Regions from separate parts of the Homo sapiens genome. Here region 2 is linked to region 1. The links are contacts of gene promoters, found by promoter capture Hi-C in blood cells and fetal thymus (Javierre and others, 2016). All regions are on one chromosome and are shown on one strand. Each heading gives the region's core, a stretch centred on a gene start or on the middle of the fragment in contact. The rest is flanking DNA. Distances are from core to core; before and after follow the strand shown.

Region 1 (3,889 bases), core at 746-3,245:
AAAAACTGATGTGGTTCTTCCTTCTCCAGGAGAAAAATTCTGTATAGGAATACTTATAAACAACAACAGTGTGATAGGATGGGCTAACAAGAGTCCAGGGCAAATCTGTCCCTTTTGGGGAGTTTTTTGGGATCTCAAGTGCTGCAAGAAGGGAGGAGCAGGTGGACAGGAGTGATCTGAAAGGTAGTGAAGCAGTGAGCCCCAGGCTAGGGGGAGTGGATGATGTCACCTTCTAGGGCCCCCTCTTCCCAGGGAACAGGACTATAAACCTGCAGAATCCTCAACGCTTTTTCTCTCCCTTGCACTCAGGGAACCCAAAAAGAAGCTCAGCACACTCACTAAGAGGAGGGAGAGGAAGTTATACTTTAATAAAAGTATCCAGAAAAATCAAGGTTTCAAAACCTTCACTGAGGTGTATTAATAATAGTAGGTATCATCTATTGAGCCTTTACAAGCGTTTTCCAGTATGTCAAAAATGGCCAAAGGATTATAATCTCCCAATTGGACATACTGCACTATATCAAACCAAGATTCTAAAATCTGCTAAACTGGCCTAACTTATATAGATGAAGATGCCAAAAAAACTGATGTGATTCTTCCTTCTCCAGGAGAAAAATTCTGTATAGGAATACTTATAGTGTATTCTTATGAATAAACTTATTCATATAGATATGTATCTGGACAGATAGATAGATAGATATAAATGAGACAGGCACCTGCGCCTGTAATCCCAGCTACTTGGGATTGGGAGGCTGAGGCAGGAGAATACCTTGAACCCGGGAGGCAGAGGCAGAGGTTGCAGTGAGATGAGATCCCGCCACTACACTCCACCCTGGGTGAGAGTGAGACTGTGTCTAAAAAAAAAATATATATATATATATATATACACACACACACACACACACACACACACACACACACACACGTATATATATATACTTTTTTAATTAAAAAATTTTAAAATGGCCGGGCGCGGTAGCTCTCGTCTGTAATCCCAGCACTTTGGGAGGCCGGGGCGGGCAGATCACGAGGTCAGGGGTTCGAGACCAGCCTGGCCAACATAGTGAAACCCAGTCTCTACCAAAAATAGAAAAATTAGCCAGGCGTGGTAGCAGGCGCCTGTAGTCCCAGCTACTTGGGAGGCTGAGGCAGGAGAATCCCTTGAAGCCGGGAGGCGGAGCTTGCAGTGAGCCGAGATCGTGCCACTGCACTCCATCCAGCATGCGCAACAGAGCGAGACTCCCTCTCAAAAAAAAAAATTAAATAAAATCTGCTACAGTAATCTTTTTTAAAAAAATCTACTATCTCTCTTGTAAACGACACAATCTTTCTCTTTGGCAAAAGTAGAATATGAGGCGTTTTAAAGTGTCTAATTCCAAAATCCCTGCCCCGGCGTGAGGCTCCCGCCTCTAATAGATGCGTGACCCTGGGCCTGTCCCTTCCCATCTCAGCCTCCGCTACTGTCCCGTGGGGCTGGCGGCCCCTGCCCGCCCAGCCTGCTGTAGGGGGGGCCGCGAGGCCTCAAATGGGACAATACTCCTAAGGCGCGGCCTCCTCGTCGCCGAGCGTGACTCTGGGGCCCGGCCTGGCTGAGGCCGCAGATGGGCCGGATCGTCAGCCGCTGACGTCGGGGCCCCGCCCGCCGGGCCTGGCATTTGGGCCGCCCGGTCAATGCCTTCGACGCGGGCTGGGCGATGGGCCGGGGGCAACGAGCGCGGAGGCTGCGCGCAAGGCCCTCTCACCCCGCGGCCTCGCGCGGCCAGAGTCCCTCGCGCGGGCTCACGCGGCGGCGGCCTGGGCCTTCCGGGCGTCCGCGGGGCCGAGGGCGCTTACCCGGGCAGGCGCCGCTTCGGCCATGGCTGCCCGCGTCCCTCGCTGGGTTGCAGTCCCTGGACCCGGCCTGTCGGGCCCGGGGCGGCGCGGCAGCGACGGCGGAAGCGGAGCGGGACCCGCCTAACCTGAGAGCTACTGCCGGGCGGCAGCGAACTGCGTCCCGAGCCACGTGCCCCGCTGGCCCTTTAAAAAAGAGCTGCGCTCGGCGGCCGAGCTTGAGGACGCGCACAGCGCCCCCTGCAGCCCGTAGGACCGCACGCCCGCGGCCGCCGCCCCGCGCCCTCCCGAGGCCTTCAGCGCCCGCGGCGTCCGGGACCCAGGCGCGGCCACCCACCCTCACCCGGGGCGCGGGAGTTGACGCCAGGGCGGGCGTGCCACGGCCTCCAGCGGGGCTACGTCAGGCGTAAGCCACTCCCGGGCCAGCGCGGCGCCCAACCTCTCTCTGCGTCCCACGCGGGAGCCGGGAGGGCTGCGGGAAGGAACCGCGCTGGAAAGTGCGAAACCTCGCGAGGGAAAGCTGCGTGGGGAACGGGGTCGGCCCTCGCCGGGGCTCCAGTCCGGACCGAGACTCTGTTGCAGCGCCTCCCACGCACCACAGAACTGAGTTGGGGAAAGTAAAAAGGATACGTGTGTACCCAGGGAGAAGCCAGGGAAACTTACATGAACGTTTTTAAAGTCTCTTTTAAATTTGACAGAACAAACGTGAAGATGGTAGGATTTTTTTTTTTTTTTTCCTAAGCCTGCCCTCCCCTCCTGAGGACTCTGGGGTCCCTTCCTCCTCCCGGGGCCCGCCTGGTGAAAGTCCTCAGCCACCCACGAGGACCCTTCTGTAGCTTTGGTCCAGGCTGAGATCACAGCAAGTGTGAATCAGTCCATCCCTCATTTAGGCCCTGAGGCATCTTGAATAAACCGCAGGACCCATTTTCCTCGGCCTGTGCTGAGGCATATTGAACTAAATGTGCTGTATGCAGTTGAAGCTTTGTTTTCTGTCTTTTCTGCATTTCCCATTCATCTCACAGTCTTTGTCCAACAAGCTGGCAAACTCTTCCCGCTAGAAATCTGCAGTTTTGTTTCTTTCTGTGTTTGGGTTTGTTTGGGGTTTTTTGGTTTTGGTTTTGTTTTTTCTTTTTTGGGGGGGGGGGGTGAGGGTGAGAAGTTATTTTCACAAATATTTGAGCCAAGCAAAAGCGTGGTCAACTATCAGAAAAAACACAAACTGATATCCTAAGTAAGGTGAACCCCAAAATTTGCGGAAAGGTTAGGACGTGTTACTTTAAGGTAACAAATCAAATAAATATTTGGCATTATTCATTTTGGAAATTCTTGTTGAACTATCCCAATCTAAAACACAAACTGCAAGTATGCACTAAAGACATTAAGAGCATCCCTAGGATCTTATCAGGGATCAGTCCAATCTATTCAGGATTATAAAATACCAGTAAATGGTGACGTTATAGAATAACAGTTAAGGTCCAATGCAAACAGAAAGGGTCAGGAAAATGGGCCAGGAGCCGTGGCTCATGCCTGTAATCCCAGCAGTTTGGGAGGCTGAGGCGGATGGATCACCTGAGGTCAGGAGTTCGAGACCAGCCTGGCCAACATGATGAAACCCCATCTCTACTAATACAAAAAATTAGCTGGGTGTGGTGGTGAGGTACTCTGGAGGCTGAGGCAGGATAATCGCTTGAACCCGGGAAGCAGAGGTTGCAGTAAGCCGAGATCATGCCATTGCACTCCAGCCTGGGCAACAAGAGCAAAACCCCATCTCAAAAAAAAAAAAAAAGAAAAAGAAAGAAAGAAAGGGTCAGGAAAATGGGCTGGAGACAAAAATGCTAGGATTTAATGAGCTCTGTTGAGGAAAGAGTGCTATAATGTTTGACAGCTAGTCTTCGTTTTTTAGAAAAAAAGTTTCTCTAAGTCAGTGGTACTCAAACTTCAGTGTGCATCATGTTCACTGAGGGTTCTTGTTAAAAATACAGGATGCTAGGCACAAACCTCAACATTTCTAGGTCTGAAACAGGAGGGGATGAAAGTGATGCGAATTTGCAATTCTAAC
Region 2 (3,889 bases), core at 630-3,129, 2.3 Mb before region 1:
GCGTGACCGGGGCTGGCGGTCTCCCCCACCCCGCCCCCGATGTAAGGAAAAGAAAGTCCGTGGGATTTTAACAAAGGAAGCAGCGCCTCGGCTTCATTCCATCTGTGGTGAAGTTTACCCTTGTAAAGAAAACTAGGGATTTAGAGGACGTTTGGGCACTGAACGCAAGTTTTCTGCATAGGAAACCTAGGCGATCCCCCAAAAGAGGTCCCTCTGGAGGCCCTCGAGATGCTGCTGGCGGCCTGGGTAGGAAGACAGAGAAAAAGGAATGTCTGATCTCTCGGTGCCCTATTTTTGTTCGGGAAGGAATAAGGTCAGGTACTTGCAACCAGGCTGTTGAAGTAATTCCAAAGTCTTTTTGTTTTCTTTTTCTTCCCCCAAAAGGTTGACATACATTTGAAACAGTTCCTAGCAGTCGCCTTATTGCTGAATAAGGTGGCTTAGGGTCGGGTTGGGGGGCGGACGGGGTGTTACAGAACGAGCGGTTTTCTGGCCTGTGTGAAACCAGAGCGATTGAACTTAGACACGCTTCAGGGTGAGGCTGTATTGTCTCCCGACATCCGGAAGCCTGGAGAAATTAGTTCATCTTTTCGGGCTGTTTTGAAGTAACTGTCTATAGAAGGCGTGCACCGGGCCACAGTTGAGGGGATGGGGAGGTGAAAGCGAGGGTTCCGAGGCTCCCGTGATTGCGGAACGGGGTGACTATCTGTCATGGGAAGCTTGTACCTGCCTGCCGCTCACTGGATGCACTCCCCAACTGCGCTTTCCACCGCCTGTGCCAGGGTCTGTGCTCTTTGACCAAGATCAGCCACTGCATGCTTACTCATCCTTTTACCACCTCTCCGTCGAGAGCCGGGGGGAAATTAAGGGCTGAAAGAAGCTTGGCTAGAGATGCGGGGTGCCTAGAGTCGTAGGGGAACTCTTGTGCGATGCGGTGCTGAATCCGAGGGGATGCATAGGTGGCAGCTTTAACAGCTGCAGCCAGGAAGTAACCATGAATCAAATGGAGGGGTTCAAAGTCACTAATTGTTCAAATATCAACATGGAACCTGGGATCCAGCCTTTATTGGCAGCCTGAATCCATGCTCTTGTCTCTGTTCTCTTGATTTCCTCCTCTGCATTTTGAGGAGTTGGGACCGCGAGGTGTTCTGGCTCTTGGGTGAGCCTTCCCTAGTCAGTCAAGTAAGTACTTATTGGCAACTATTTGGAAATAGTAGTCCCTGAATAATCACGTTATAGGCAACAAGTACCTCGGCTACCTGATTTCAACCCAAGAGAATGACCTAAAGATCTTGACTGATTTACCCTTTTCAAATGTCGAAATGGTAGCTCTAGTCTTTGGTGAGCAGGGCTAGTTTTATCACTTTTTTTTTTTTTTTTTTGGCTACAGAAGTTCCTTATGTCCAGTTGAAATCCATTCTGTTTTATCTTCCCTCTATTCAGCGTCCTCCTGAGGACGGAGATGTGACAGGCCACCCCTTAGCCTTGTCCTCACAAACTGTTGCTTGTTAAATACTGTGCTAACTTAGTCTCCGGTGGGATACAGGGTCACTTTTAGTCCCTATTTTCTGTCTTCAGTATTTCATATTTCTGCAACCTACCCCACTTCTCCATATTTATTTTCAAGCGTAGTCATATTAAACGATTTTGGAGAGGTTAAGTTGCTCCCAATCTTGTATTTGATTTTTTTTTTTTTTTTTTTCCGAGACGGAGTTTCGCTCTTGTGACCCAGGCTGGAGTGCAATGGCGCGATCTCGGCTCACTGCATCCTCCACGCCCCGGACTCAAGCGATTCTCCTGCCTCAGCCTCCAGAGTAGCTGGCACTACAGGCGTGCACCACTATGCCCGGCTAATTTTGTATTTTTAGTAGAGACGGGTTTCACCACTTGGCCAAACGTCAGGCTTGTCTCAAACGCCTGACCTCAGGTGGTCCTCCCACCTTGGCCTCCCAAAGTGCTGGGATTATAGGCGTGAGCCACCATGCCCAGCCGCATTTGATTTTAAAGTGTATTATGAGCCAGGATATTTTGTAGTATGTGGGGTCTTTTTTAGGGGAAGGAGATTAGGTTTTGCCAGCAGGTTTCTTCTAGTAAGCCACCCTTTTGAGAATTACTCAGCATGCTCACTTCTGGGAGCTTACTGGCATGTTTGCTTGCAAATGGTGGTGCTGTACCAGAGAAATTTGAGTACCTGTGTTTCTAGATTGTGGTATTTTGTGATGCTGAGCTGTTTGTCCTATATTCTGGGGGTAGAGCCACATAAAAAGCCTCCACACCTTTCTTAGAATGTTCTCTTGATTAAATACATTAAGCCAGTTTGACTAGTAGGATACTTGTCATTGTGATTTGTCATGCCACAAACTTTATTTTTAAAGTTGTCTTCAGATAAAACAAAAAAGTGCTATGTTTGTTTAACTAGTTGGCTTTCTTTTTTTTTTTTTTTTTTTTTTGTGACAGAGTCTCACTCTATCACCCAGGCTGGAGTGCAGTGGCGGGATCTGGGCTCACTGCAACCTCTGCTGCCCAGGTTCAACCGATTCTCCTGCCTCAGCCTCCCAAGTAGCTGGGATAACAGGCGCCTGCCACCCCGCCCAGCTAATTTTTGTATTTTTAGTAGAGACTGGGTTTCACCATCTTGGCCAGGATGGTCTTGAACTCCTGACCTCGTGATCCACCTGCCTCGGCCTCCCTAAGTGCTGGGATTACAGGCATGAGTCACTGCACCCAGCCCACTACTTGGCTTTCCGTTTTCTTTTTTTCTTTTTTTTTGAGTGTTGTCAGAACTACCAATAGGTAAAATATAATTCTCAGGTAGTCTATACAATTCTCCCTGCCAGTCCCCTGTACTTTTCCTGGTATTTACAATGTTAAAGCTTTTAAGGACACGTCACCTATAACTCTGGGAGTCTGGCTTTCAGGGAGTGCTTTGTATTAACTGTTGCCGTGATGGCCAAAAGTACCAGCTCCCTGACATTCCGTTATTTCTACCACAACGGAGTAGTCCCGCGATAGGAAGTAACTCAACTTAAAATGGTAGTGTTACGTAAACTGTCTTCAGCCTGGTACATCTTTCACTGGGATTTTACCTGTACAGAGAGCTTTGGTAACCTAGTTTACCATTAGACCATAATTAAAAGCTGGTTGTCATATATAAGCCTCTTACATACAGTTAATAAGAGGGATGGGATCACAGGCATGTGAAAGATCATAGGGGGAAAATGAAACAGCTTTGTGGTTTGGAAGAAGGCAATTCAGCAAAAGTACTCAAATTATTACTTTGTCAAAATGTTTAGGTAGTATTTAGAGTCTTCATGAGGAAAGATGTCATTAAATATTTGGTTGTTCCCAGCAGATTCTGACTTACTGTTTATTTTTTAAGTTAACCTATCATTTGTTGACACTTTTTATTGAAAAATTGAAAGGCAAAACAATATTTGCTATGTATGACATCTACCAGTATGTGAAATTGTATATTCAGGTGCTTAATATTCTGATGTTGTATACTTGTGGGTGGGGGTAGTCCTGAAGTGCCCACTTTGTATTGAAACTTGAAATTACTGTTTTTCAGTCTCATTCATTGTTCTGCACAAGAGCATAATCAGAATTCAGATTTCTGATTATGGCTTTCCAGTGCCAAATGTTATTTTGCTGTCCATATGGGTTATATCTCTCTGTACTTCATCACCCCAAAAAGAAACTCTGTACTCATTAGCAGTCACTCTCCATCCTGCTTCCCTGTCAGCCCCTGGCAACCACTAATCTTTCTGTTTCTATGAATTTACTTACTCTGGACATTTCATATAAATAAGAACATACATATGTGGTCTTCTGGGGCTGGCGTCTTTTACTTAGTATAATGTTTTCAAGGTTCGTTCATGTTGTAGCATAT

What was found. Contacts are between HindIII fragments. The CHiCAGO score rates a contact against its expected background, and 5 or more counts as called.
Region 2: a fragment that was not itself captured here is called in contact with the fragment with the promoter of ZNF783 in region 1 in 1 of 17 cell types (naive CD8 T cells); the score reaches 9.3 in naive CD8 T cells.

The regions. Positions count from the first base shown.
Region 1 is chr7:149,260,302-149,264,190 of GRCh38, reverse strand. It overlaps ZNF783 (zinc finger protein 783), which reads right to left and starts at 1,995. Exons shown (of 6, transcript NM_001195220.2): 1 at 1,834-1,995. The coding sequence starts at 1,857. LOC124901769 (a long non-coding RNA gene) reads left to right here and starts at 1,850. Exons shown (of 2, transcript XR_007060582.1): 1 at 1,850-2,544. RefSeq lists a silencer at 1,528-2,397. The HindIII fragment of the contact is 3,928 bases long and covers 1-2,812 here.
Region 2 is chr7:151,515,184-151,519,072 of GRCh38, reverse strand. The region is part of intron 1 of RHEB (Ras homolog, mTORC1 binding); the gene reads left to right. Among named protein-coding and RNA genes, the nearest start is that of RHEB, 2.8 kb to the left of the region's middle. RefSeq lists an enhancer at 998-1,047. The HindIII fragment of the contact is 1,993 bases long and covers 883-2,875 here.